Linked DNA regions of Homo sapiens: all the other regions are linked to region 1. The links are contacts of gene promoters, found by promoter capture Hi-C in blood cells and fetal thymus (Javierre and others, 2016). All regions are on one chromosome and are shown on one strand. Each heading gives the region's core, a stretch centred on a gene start or on the middle of the fragment in contact. The rest is flanking DNA. Distances are from core to core; before and after follow the strand shown. Region 1 holds the start of DYNLT1 (dynein light chain Tctex-type 1). Region 2 overlaps IGF2R (insulin like growth factor 2 receptor). Region 3 holds the start of WTAP (WT1 associated protein).

The links. The method cuts DNA at HindIII sites, captures the fragments that hold promoters and counts their contacts. A CHiCAGO score of 5 or more calls a contact.
Region 2: a fragment that was not itself captured here is called in contact with the fragment with the promoter of DYNLT1 in region 1 in 1 of 17 cell types (neutrophils); the score reaches 5.4 in neutrophils.
Region 3: the fragment with the promoter of WTAP here is called in contact with the fragment with the promoter of DYNLT1 in region 1 in 2 of 17 cell types (neutrophils and monocytes); the score reaches 9.0 in neutrophils.

What each region holds. Positions count from the first base shown.
Region 1 is chr6:158,642,722-158,646,639 of GRCh38, forward strand. It overlaps DYNLT1 (dynein light chain Tctex-type 1), which reads right to left and starts at 2,022. Exons shown (of 5, transcript NM_006519.4): 1 at 1,961-2,022. The coding sequence starts at 1,987. It also overlaps a transcript of SYTL3 not described here. RefSeq lists an enhancer at 1,393-2,336 and silencers at 1,460-1,789, 1,950-2,179. The HindIII fragment of the contact is 7,871 bases long and covers 1-3,918 here.
Region 2 is chr6:159,983,395-159,987,312 of GRCh38, forward strand. All of the region lies in intron 1 of IGF2R (insulin like growth factor 2 receptor), which reads left to right. Among named protein-coding and RNA genes, the nearest start is that of IGF2R, 16 kb to the left of the region's middle. RefSeq lists silencers at 1-97, 1,103-1,397. The HindIII fragment of the contact is 2,660 bases long and covers 613-3,272 here.
Region 3 is chr6:159,725,779-159,729,696 of GRCh38, forward strand. It overlaps WTAP (WT1 associated protein), which reads left to right and starts at 1,728. Exons shown (of 8, transcript NM_001270531.2): 1 at 1,728-1,925. It also overlaps a transcript of SOD2 not described here. RefSeq lists enhancers at 939-1,536, 1,017-1,106, 1,457-1,586, 1,537-2,134 and a silencer at 1,597-2,146. The HindIII fragment of the contact is 6,285 bases long and covers 1-3,594 here.

The DNA.
Region 1 (3,918 bases), core at 772-3,271:
GACTACCGTGACCTTAATCACAAAGGAAAGGCACTGTATCACCTCCCATATGGTTACAGTACGAAAAAGGTTGAGGGACATTTTAAAGAATTTTTAGTGGAAAGCAGAGTTGTATTGAATCCAGTGGATAGTTTTAACGTCTCCAAGAAAGATGAATGGTGAGTTGAGAGAATAGTTACAAAGGCCCAGGCATCTACACGAAGTTAGAAGAGATGCAGAAAAGGCTGCTAAGAGGCTGGTGGGAGGACCAGAACGGGCCATTCAGTAAATACCTAAGACATGCCTACTACAAGACAGCCATGGTCTCCACCTCCCAGGGCCTCCATCCCAGGTAGAACACTCATCACTCTGTCCAGCCCCTTCATTTTACACATATGCGATTGAGATCTCGAATAATGAAGCCACTTAGCCACCTTATTTGTGGGAGTCAGAATCGGACTGCAGTATTAAGCGCTTTCCTTTACAAAGCGATTTCTTTTTTAGAAGTTTTACTCGATATTACTGTAATACAAGACATTTTCCAATATTATATTAGTAACAGTTTAAGGGGAAAGGCTTTTTTCTTTGCCAACTGCTCCTGAACCAGCTCTTCTCGTCATTATTCACTTGGTTGCCATCAGCATTCAAACACTGATTATGCCACTGTCACAGGAAGTGTGTGCTAGTTAGGAAATCAGATCAAAACTGAAACTCTAGAATCAGTCCTTAAGTTTTAGTTTTATTTTCCCTGAAAACATTCCTCCTTAAACGAAATTTTTTTCTTTTTTTTTGGTTTTTGAGACGGAGTTTCGCTCTTGTTGCCCAGGCTGGAGTGCAATGGCGCGATCTTGGCTCACGGCAACCTCTGCCTCCCAGGTTCAAGGGATTCTCCTGCCTCGGCCTCCCGAATAGCTGGGATTACAGGCATGCGCCACCACGCCCGGCTAATTTTGTATTTTTAAAAGAGACGGGGTTTCTCCATGTTGGTCAGGCTGCTCTCGAACTCCTGACCTCAGGTGATCCGCCCGCCTAGGCCTCCCAAAGTGCTGGGATTACAGGCGTGAGCCACTGCGCCCAGCCACTAAATTTCATAAATGGTAAGATATCCAACCTTACCAAATGTATCTATAGTTTATATTTTTGACAGGCTGCATAATAAATCCATAGGGCTCTATCTGAATTTCAACAAGGATTATTCAGTAAGAAGAAAATGAGTGTTGTATCTCAGCTGCGCCCATCAGCTCTATTCCCCGAATGACCGTGAGCTTGAAGGAAAGCCATTTAACGCACACGGTGCCGATGGGTGTCTTCTGCTTGGCGACATCGTGGGCTTTATCCTACTTCCTCAAGGAGGCATAAAAGATGATTTTTTCCCCACAACAATGAGCTTTCTTACAGACATATTAAACGGAAATGAAATGTGCTACTCATTCCCAGCGTTGCAGAACCAGGTGAGGCCCGAGACAAAGGCGCGGGATGGCCGGGACGCCAGCCCGGGGCGGAGGGGCTGGCGGCGGGAGCGTCACCCGCACCTCCGCGGGGAGACGTCCAAGCCTCGGCGCTCCCAGCCCGGCCGCCGCGCCCCGCTCCAGGCTGGGGCTGGGGCTGGGGTCAGCCCCGCAGAGCAAGGGGCGGTGATGTCATCCTCTCGGCGAGCTTGGCTGCGGGCCGGAGGCGAGGCCCTGCGGGAAGGTTTCTCGGCACCGCTCACCGGGGCGCTCTCTCCGAGTCACGCCCGGTGCCTCCCCGCGCGGGAAGAAGCTCAATCCCCTTCCCGCCCCCCGCGCCGGGGAAACGGCGGCAATGTCCGGGCAGAATGGGGCCGGGCGGAGCGCCGGCGACCGGGAAGCTCAGGCCGTGGGCTGCCGAGACTGGCCTAGCTGAAGGAGGTGGGCAGCCAGGCCTTTCCGGGCAGGACCGCGTGTCCTTCCGCGGCCAGGGCTCTAGGCCTCCACCCTTCCGTCGCCGACCCGGCGGTTACCTCCTCCGCAGCCTGGTAGTCTTCCATCTTTCCTCCGGCGCGTCCCCTCCGGCTCCCTGAGTGGCGCGGACTGCGCAGGCGCACTCAGGCCCCGCCCCGGACCTGCCACGCCCCTCTCCTCTCGCGCCTGCCTCGCCCATGCCCAGCTCCCGGGCCCCGCCCTTCGCTGCCCGGACCCTCAGTGACCCCATCCCTGGGCGGGGCCCGTGGGTGGACCCTGAATTCGCCTCTCCTCCTGTCCTCTGGGAGGTGGTAGTTTCCATGGGAATCCGTGAGGGTAGCCGGGCAGCTCCCTAAACCTTAGCAACAGAAACAAAACACACGTACAAAAGGCAGTCCTGGAGGGGAAGCGTGGTCCCGGCCCCTCCTCCGGTTTGTACTGTGTGGATTGACGCGGACGTTCAAACCCGCTCGGACACCTGGCAACAAACTCGAAAGTGACTGCTGAAGGCAGTGCGCCCGGTGAGACGTTGTTGCAGTTCCCTTGGGGACTGGGATTGGCATGCTTTAGCTATCTGAACGAAACTTCCCTTTGGGGAGTTAAGTTTTCCAGGTAAATGAGAATTTTTCCTTTAAGCACCATTAAAAAAAAACATTTTGGGTGGAAAATTTTGTAAAATGTGGCACACTTCCTGACTACCTTAACCATAGTGAACTAGACAGACTTTATTTGTATGTGGGTTCTTTATGGAAATTAGGAATTGCACTGGGCTCTGGTAAACTGCCCTCCACGGAAAGCTGGGGCATATGCATCTATTGGCAGGTATTCTGAGGCTCCGAGTTTTGATTTTGGCGTTTGCTTTTTCTGGTTTCGTCATGCACTTGAATTCAGGTTGCTGGAACCCACTTCCCATTCCCCAAGAAAGAGCTGACTGCAAGGGTCCCAGGGATTTGGTAGACCTAAACTTCAAATCCCACATCTAATCCATCAACAACCCTTGTTATTTCTACCCCATATGCTCGGGACCCCAGTTAAAGATTGATATCTCTCATCTGGATTATGACCATCGGACTGTAACCTGGTCGGTCTATCAGGGTCTTATTAGAGCCCTTCAAGAGGAACCTAACCCAACGACTCCTCCCTCCCCTCACCCATTCTGCCCTGCCATAAGTCAATAGTTACTAAGTTGTCAGACTATAGACTAATCTTAGTGATCTTTGGATGACTAAACTTTTAACATATCTTAGCTCAAAATCTCCTACAGAGAGCCATTCTGTGACCACGGCATCTAAGGTAGCCGACCTCCTCATCCTCCACCCCTGCATCCTGTACATTTTCCTCATAGCACTTCTCTCAGTTTGCAAGAACGTATTTATGGTTGCTTGTTGATGGTGTGTCTCCATTTAGAAACTAAGTACCATGCAGGAAGGATCTGTTTTATTCACTAATGTATCCCCTTCCTTCCACATTGTGCCTGGCACATAATAGCTACACAATTAACATTTATTTATTTATTTATTTAGAGACAGGGTGTCATTCTGTTGCCCGGGCTGGAATGCAGTGGTGTGATCGGAGATTTTGAGCTAAGATGTGTTGAAGTTTAGTCATCCAAAGACCACTAAGAGCTTGAACTCCTGGGCTCAAGGTATTCTCCTGCCTTAGCCTCCTGAGCAGCTGGGATTCCAGGCACTAGCCACCACACCCACCTATTTTTTTAATATGTCTTTTGTAGAGATGGGATCTCACTGTGTTGCCCAGGCAGGTCTCAAACTCCCGGGCTTAAGGGATCCTCCAGCCTCAGCCTCCCAAAGTGCTGGGATTATAGCTGTGAGCCACCATGCCCGGCCTAAAATTTATTGCATGAATCATTTCCCTCATGGGTGTTAGCTTTGCCTCAGACCCAAATGGAGAGAACTGGGGAGTGGAGGAAGATGCAACTACCTGCCTCCTTGAGGGAAACAGGGCTGGCGAGAGGAGGGCAGAGCCCTGACTGACACAAGGCTGCTTGGCCCTGGGT
Region 2 (3,918 bases), core at 693-3,192, 1.3 Mb after region 1:
GGAACCTCTGTACTTCTGAACAGGCGTGGACTGACTGCAGTTCTCCAGGATAGTTTCAGCAGAAGCAGTGAGATTACAGTCAGGAGCAAAACAGTATCTGAGCTTTCTTTATGGGAAAGATTCCGACTGTGTGCTTGGTTTATATGGTTAAATTAATTGCCCTTGTTAAATTAAAAAAATAGGGTATGTTTCTGCCACAGACTTTGCTTTAAAAGCAGAGATCTTCTAAAGTCATTTGCCTTGTATTTGACTTCTGCTGCTCCCCGTTTCCTGCTGGGCCTGATGGTTTGATTGTAGAATGTTTCTGAGTTGTGTCACTGTTGGACTCTGCTGAGCTGAGTAGTCTCATTAAAGGAGAGTGTGCATCTGAGTTGAGGAAGACAATATAGATGTGGACCTTGTTTGTAGAGTTCACAAGCTGCTTACATAGAAATAGCAAGGACAGTGCAGCCAGTGGGAAGGAGCCGGCTGAGGGACTTGATATTATTTCCATGGAAACCAGTTGGGTATGGGAAGAGAGGTTGTGGAAGGCAATGCTCTGGTGTTTGGCAATTCACACTGTGCAGAAGAGAAAGCAGAACTGGACTGGGAGTATAGAGTAGCAGAAGTTTAAGCTTGGGGAAGAAGTTGAGCAAGGAAAAGCATATGATCTGTTGATCAGCATGATGTGATGTGGTCTGAATCTTCAGACAGTTCACAGCTTTTTCATAGAGGCTGTCCTCAGATGGGTTCAACCATTCTGAGAATTCTGCCTTTACGATATAAGTAGTATCCATGACATTAAAAACGAGAAGAGAAGCGTTTTGGCCAATGACGGACTGCATAAACTACAGTCTGCATAAATGACCTTGGTCCTAGAAGATTAGGATGAAGCTGAACAATTCTTATCACCTAGTGATGCTGTAGCCATTGTAATGTCGTAGCACAATGCATTAGTCACATGTTTGTGGTAATACTGCTGTAAACGAACCCACTGCGCTACCAGTCTTATGAAAGCGTCCAGTCAGGTCCTAGGCCTTTAGGTCCACTCACTCACTGACTCACCCAGAGCCGCTTCCAGTCCTGCAGGCTCCATTCATTATAAGTGCCCTAGGCAAGTGTGCCATTTTAATCCTTTATACCATATCTTTGCTGCACCTTTTCTACGTTTAGATATGTGTCACATGTTACAGTTGCCTGGGGTATTCAGTGCAGCGTCATGCTGTGTGGGTTTGTAGCCTGGGAACAATAGGACATACCATATAGCCTAGGTTTGTAGTAGGCGACACCATCTATGTGTGTGCAGATACACTCGATGATGTTTGAGCAGTGACAGAATTGCCTCATGACACATTTCTGATGACGTATCGCCATTAAGTGAGTGACTATAAACCAGTCCCCCCATCAGCAGTTACACTTCCTGAGGTTTCAGTTACCCATGGTCACTTGCAGTCTGAAAATATGAAGATATTTTGAGAGAGAGATGCCACATTCACATACCTTTTATTACAGTTATAATTGTGCTATTTTATTATTAGTTGTTAATCTTTTACAACTAATTTATAAATTAAACTTAATCATGGGTATGTATGTAAAGGAAAAACCATATCCGAAACCGTATTCCTGGTTCCAGGCCTCTACTGGGGGTCTTGTATCTGTGATTACAAGGTGCTGCGAAGGGATAACTGTAATTTTTCTATATGACTAGCATTTTATTGAATCAAGTTGTGTAGATGGTTGGCAATATAATAGGAACTCAGAGATCTTTATGCCATACAGAGTCTGTCCTTTTAATGGCATTTATTGTGACAAGATTTAAACTAAAGTTTTGTGGAATGTTTTGCCAGTTTTTGTGTTGTAACTGAAACTAAATGTTTTCTGAAAAGTTAAAACCATTTCTTTAAATGGAAAATAAATGAAGCCGTTTACCTAATTGGTTAAGGACTCACCCGTGGGCCTCACACCGCCTAGGTTAATTCTTCACTTTATAATTCCGTGATGTTGGGCAAGTTCCTCATTCTGAGCCTTGGGATATTTGGCTTCAAAGCTGAGGAACTTGGGAGGGTTGGATAATGGCATCACGTTCTGTGGGGAGATTTGGCTCACATGTTAGCTGTGTGGGTGAGAGCCGTGCTGTCATGCGTTCTTAGCCACTGGCCAGTTTCCTTCTCAAGCCATCAGTAGAGATGCTGATCCTGCATCTGCCAGTCATTGCTCCAGGAGGGAAGACATTACTGTCCCAGAGTGACGGTGTCATTGGGGATAACAGACACTTCAGAAAATGCCACCACTGAGCTGTATGAAGTGCCATGGCAGCTAGTGCTGGAGCTGTGGATTCAGCCGGGGAGCACTGTCTGGAGGAGCTGCTGCAGCACATGTGTGTCTCTCCAGCTGTCAGGCTGGCCTTTGGAGTGCATTTGGATTTTTTGAGAATGAGAGAGGGACCATTGGCTAACTGTTTTACGCTCTGAAAAATGACATAGAATAGCAAAGATTTTACTTATTTTTGCTGATTTTCTAGAACATTTTCTGTCCCAGAGTGATGGTTTTGAAGAACCAGCGTTCTTGGAAAGATGGTTTTGCATCCAGAAGAGTGATTTTAACTAAAATCAGGCTGCCTCCCTTGAGGATGGTCACTGAATTTTGTACAACTGGGACAACGGACAGGGATCCTGGGTTGTTTCCAGTGGACAAGCCGCTTCTGTGGGGGCCTTTGCAGTTCTCCCCGCTCCTCTCCTGTGTCCCGCTGGTTTCCTTCAGTTGAGATGGAATACAGCATAGAGTCAGTGACTTTTAGAAGACTTGACAGAGTTTCAGGAAAATGCTCACTGGGCTTTCTTACCTATCCTGCTGCAGAACTTTTTTTTTTTTTTTTTGAGATGGAGTCTCACTCTGTCACCCAGTCTGGAGTGCAGTGGTGCGATCTCGGCTCACTGCAACCTCCACCTCCTGGATTCAAGCTATTCTCGTGCCTCAGCCTCCCGAGTAGTTGGGACTATAAGCGTGCGCGACCATGCCTGGCTAATTTTTGTGTGTGTGTGTGTGTGTGTGTGTGTGTTTTTTTTTTTTTTTTAAGTAGATTCAGGGTTTCACCATGTTGGCCAGGCTGGTCTCGAACTCCTGACCTCAAGTGATCCTCCCACCTTGGCCTCCCAAAGTGCTGTGATTACAGGCATGTGCCACTGCGCATGGCCTGAAGTTCTTTCTTTCAGAAAATGTATTCAACACATTCTTTTGTGTGTGTTTGAGTGAAGACGGTGTTTCCACACAGCTTGCAGATACTTTCTTCCAGAAGCTTGTTTGTTGCTAACATTTAACATCTTACTGTTACAGCTTAGTTTTCTCTTTGATTGAATATATTGATCTCTTTTTTTTTTTTTCTGTTGGCTTTTTTCTTAAGTCTTTACTTGTGTAAGCTCAGATAACTTAGTCTAGAATGTAGGCTTTTTCTGGGAATCTCAGCTGAATGGTTTCATTTGCTTGGCTGTTAAATGAACCATACTGTTTGGAATAGTTTCCTAATTCTGGCTGTACATGTTCACTTCAGGTAGAGAATTTTCTAACAGACAAACTTTCAGACAAAAAATTTATTATTCCTCAAAGATATCATTACATTTTATTTAGTCTGTAATAATTTTATTGCTTCTGAAACCATTTTCTAGTTCTATAATGTGATCATGGTGCTTTTAAACTTTAATATCAAGTTAATTTTAAGAATGATTTTAGCTTAGGCCATTCTAGGGGCTTGGCCTTTAATCTGAAAAGAAATTTAGAATCCTTTAGTTTCAAACATGTGATTTCTTAAAACTTGTTGTCAGTTATTTATACGATTTTCAAGTTTATTATGAAATAGTCTTTAAAAAATATTTACTTTAGTGGAAACATATCTAGTGATAGTTTAACCAGGGTGCATACCAGAGTACATAATAGTTTTTGGAA
Region 3 (3,918 bases), core at 478-2,977, 1.1 Mb after region 1:
ATGTATTTAAGTAAATACATAAAAGCATATATGCTTATTTTTGCTTTTGAATACAGTGAATACTTACTACACTTAAATATTTAAGTGAATACTTAATACAACCTGAGACTCATTCCAAAGCAACACACGATTATTTCCTGAATCTTTTTAATGGTTGCATTGTGTTCTACTGTATGGATGCACCATTCCCAATCAGTTCCCTATTAACGGATATTTGGGTTATCCCTAACTTTTGCTATGACAAATAGCACTGCAATAACCTTGTATACCTATTGTTTCCATGTGTGGAGCTGCACCTTCAGAATAAGGTTAGGGTTAGAAGTATAACTGCAAGGTATAAGAATAAACACAAGTAATTTTGTACTCCGTGGAACTTGAACCATTTTTCCACTCCCACCAGGAAAGGTAATTTCAACGTGTATTTCCATTGTAAGTGAGGTGGAGCGACTTTCTATGTTTAAAGACCATTACGGTATTTTTTCTGAGAATCATCTGTTCATGTCCTTCCCCATTTTCTCCTTTGGCTTTTGCACTTTTTGTTTTCAATTTTTGAGAGCTCTTGTGATACGAGTTGCAAAGATTTTCTCCAGACCGATCTGATTCACTGGAAATATACTACGACCATCTGGAATGTACTTTAATCTTATCCTAATAAATCACCTTACTACAAGACACTCCTTTGGGGATGAACAGGTTTGATAAAGCCGGCTAAGGACAGACCAATCAAAAGAATTACGTGCTCTTCTAGTAAGTGTTTAGAGACTGTTTCACGTTCTCCAGGTAACACCGCCATTACTCGGCGGTCCAGATGGCAGTCTTACTTCAGGGAGTCTACTCCACTTGCAGGACCTCTTTGATTGAGTTCACTAAACCTCACAGGGCCGCCTTCCCCGTGTTCCAGTTAGCAAGGGGCCCTCAACGCCGCGGACACAGCGCAACCTCCGACGCCAGAGAACAATAGCTCCTCGATGCGTCTCCAGAGATGTCAAGGAGGAACGAACCCAGCGGCCAGGAGACTGCGCCTCACGACTGATGAGAGGGAAGGCATCGGTTTCTAAGTTCTCAAAACTTACAGGTGAGCTTCTGCTAAGAGTAAACGCCCGCGGCTCGCCGCCCACGGCCTCTCTCTTGAGGTGGCACCTGGTCCTCCGACACGCGGAAGCATCACGGATGAGCGTCACGAACACAGAGCGGCCAATCACGCGCCGCCTTCGCCCAGATCCCTCCGCACGAGGCAGCCCCGCAGCCGCAGGTGGCCCCGGCGAGTACTTCCACCTTCCCTTCCCGTGATGCCCTGGGGCTGACCTCCGACCTCGCTGGCCCGCCCCTCCCCTCGGCCGCTTCCCTTACTGAGCTTGCTGAGCTCCGGGGCCCGCGGAGCTCGCGCCAGGCTCCTGGGAAAGGACGGGGAGTGTTACCGGGGAGCAGCTGCTCCATTGTGCCTCGAGGCCCCGATCGGGCTAGGCCGACGGCCTCCCTCCCTTCACCTTTCCTCTCCTGGCGGGGTTCGGCGGCGGGCGAGTGACTGCGGCCACGCCTGAAAGGCGACTCTCCTGTGAGTGGGCCAGAAGGCGAACATGGCGGAGCGGGGAGGCTGGCGGGAGGCGGGAGGCGGGAGGCGGGAGGCAGTGGCGCTGGCCTGCGGCGCGTTCGGACCGGCTGTGGGGCGGGGCAGGGCGGAGCGGAGCCGTGCGGCGGGGCGGGGCCGGGCGGCGGGGCCTGGTTTCCTCCCTCAGCGCCATTTTGTGGCAGCGAGACCCACAAATAAAGGGGAGCGCAGGGGTTGCGGCGGGACTAGGAGCGCGGCGGGGCCGGCGGCAGAGCTGTCCGGCTGCGCGGTGGCCCGGGGGGCCCGGGCGGCAGGGCAAGCAGCGCGGCCTCGGCCTATGCGACCGGTGGCGCCGGCGCGGCTTCTGCCTGGAGAGGTAGGCGCGGGCCGGCTGGCGGGAGCGGACGCGGGGGACCTCCGGGGCCTGAGGGCTGATGCGCAGCCGCCCCCGGCGGGTAAGGGGCGGGCAGGGCCCGAAAGGCCACACGGGCCTGGTGCGGCACCGGTCTCTCGTGAGCCGCTCTACCTTCCCGCCTGCGGGGAACACTTCCGCCGCTTCGAGGCCATTTTATCTCTGTCCTCCGTCCCCAAGGCCCGGGTTGAGAGGGGTGCTCTGGCGGCCGGAGAGACCGGCCACTCACGGAGGCCGGAGGATGCCCTCCCCGGGCTGAGCGGCGGCGCTCGTTTTTTCCTCGCCTCGGGGTCGCCCCCTTCACCTCCCTTGGGCCTCTCCTGAGGACCTGGCGGCACTAACGAGTTCAGCAAGGAAAAAAAGAAACATTCGTTCCCTACATTTCATGTCACGCAGTAGGATGTTACTACGTTCTCTTGTAGACTTCCATTTTTAAATGAGTATAAGCATTCTGAGGAAAGAAACTGAATTATTGCAGATTTTTGTGAAATCCAAGTCTTACCTTGGATCCCTGTGAGACAGTTACTAGATTTTTTTTTCACCGTTTTTCATAAGTCTGTGTACACGTAATGGAAAAGCCCGAGTTCTTGTTTTGATAAGAAAGTCACTTGGTTGTTTGATCCCAAAGGATTAGCTTAACATTATCAAGGACTAGCATAACTGTGATTATGTAAAAAAAACAAAACAAAACAAAAAAACTATTATTTAGTCTGGTAGGGAAATACTTCTATGAGTATGTTACAATTGGAAGTTGTATTTGTGCCTATTTTATCTAGTTTTAGTTAATTCCATTGCTTCGGAAGATAAGTGGACGTCATAGATCCATCGCAAGTTCTCGTTTTTTGGATTTTAAAATTTTGACCATTAAGTTTTCTACGATAGATAAACATGTTGTGGACATTTAAAACCGTAATTTAAAACTATGAGCGAAAAATCTTTTCAAGATGGATACATTTTAATTCATTCAAGTAGCATCTGATTAGCCAAGTCGGGGAAAGATTGCAGTCCGCAAAGCTGGCTTGTGATAAGGTTGAGGTTACATTTTAAGGGTTTGGGTAGGTGTGTTTCTTACAGTGCTTTTATATGTTAAGGTATCTTAAGCAGACACATGGTTTAAAAGTTCAGTATTTTTAGTACTTTTTCATTGGCAGAATTTGGACAAGCTACCAGAATTGCTAACTCCTAAAGGATAAAAGTAATAATAATAGTGTGTCCCAGGCACTGCTTATTTTTACATGGCTCTTTTATGTCTAGCTTTTCCAATTCAACGTTGAGTCATGTTTGCTGAAAATATTTTTGTGTATTGTTTGTCAGAAATAAGCTGGTAGAGATGAAACACAATGTGTAAAAAGCCCTGTGATGTGGAGATGAGCATTGTCACAATTTGTACAGTACATTAAAGCGTTCAAGGTCTCTTATGGTCTTGTATGTAGTATTGAATCCCCTTGAATATATTGTTTAGCAGTTTTGATCATTATGTATTTGCTTCTTGCTCCTCAAAATTGTACGTTAGTTAGTAGGTCCTTCAGCAAAAGAAGACTGAAGATAGTATTTTGGTTTTATTCTTGTTTTTAATTTTTTTAGTTGTCTCCAACTTTTCTGCCTCTAAATATTTTGCTTCTTGTAGTTACTAAGCTTAACACAGAAAAACTTTTCAGTATCTCCACAATAGTAAACTTCATTGTGTATTGTGTATAACAAGATGTTCCATCTGACTAAAATATATTGCTGTAAATATTTTCTGCCTTTGAAGATGTAGTTAATAGAATTTAATCTTTTCTAAGTGCACATTGAAGTTGCCTTTTATGTTCATATTATGTTCATATTTTATTTGAAAAATCTATAGCATTTTTATTGTGCTGAAAGCATTAATATTTGCAGCACTTTGTGAGACAGGCAAAATTATCTTTTTGCTGACTTGGAAACTGCAAGAGTTAAAAGACTTGCTTGGAATCAC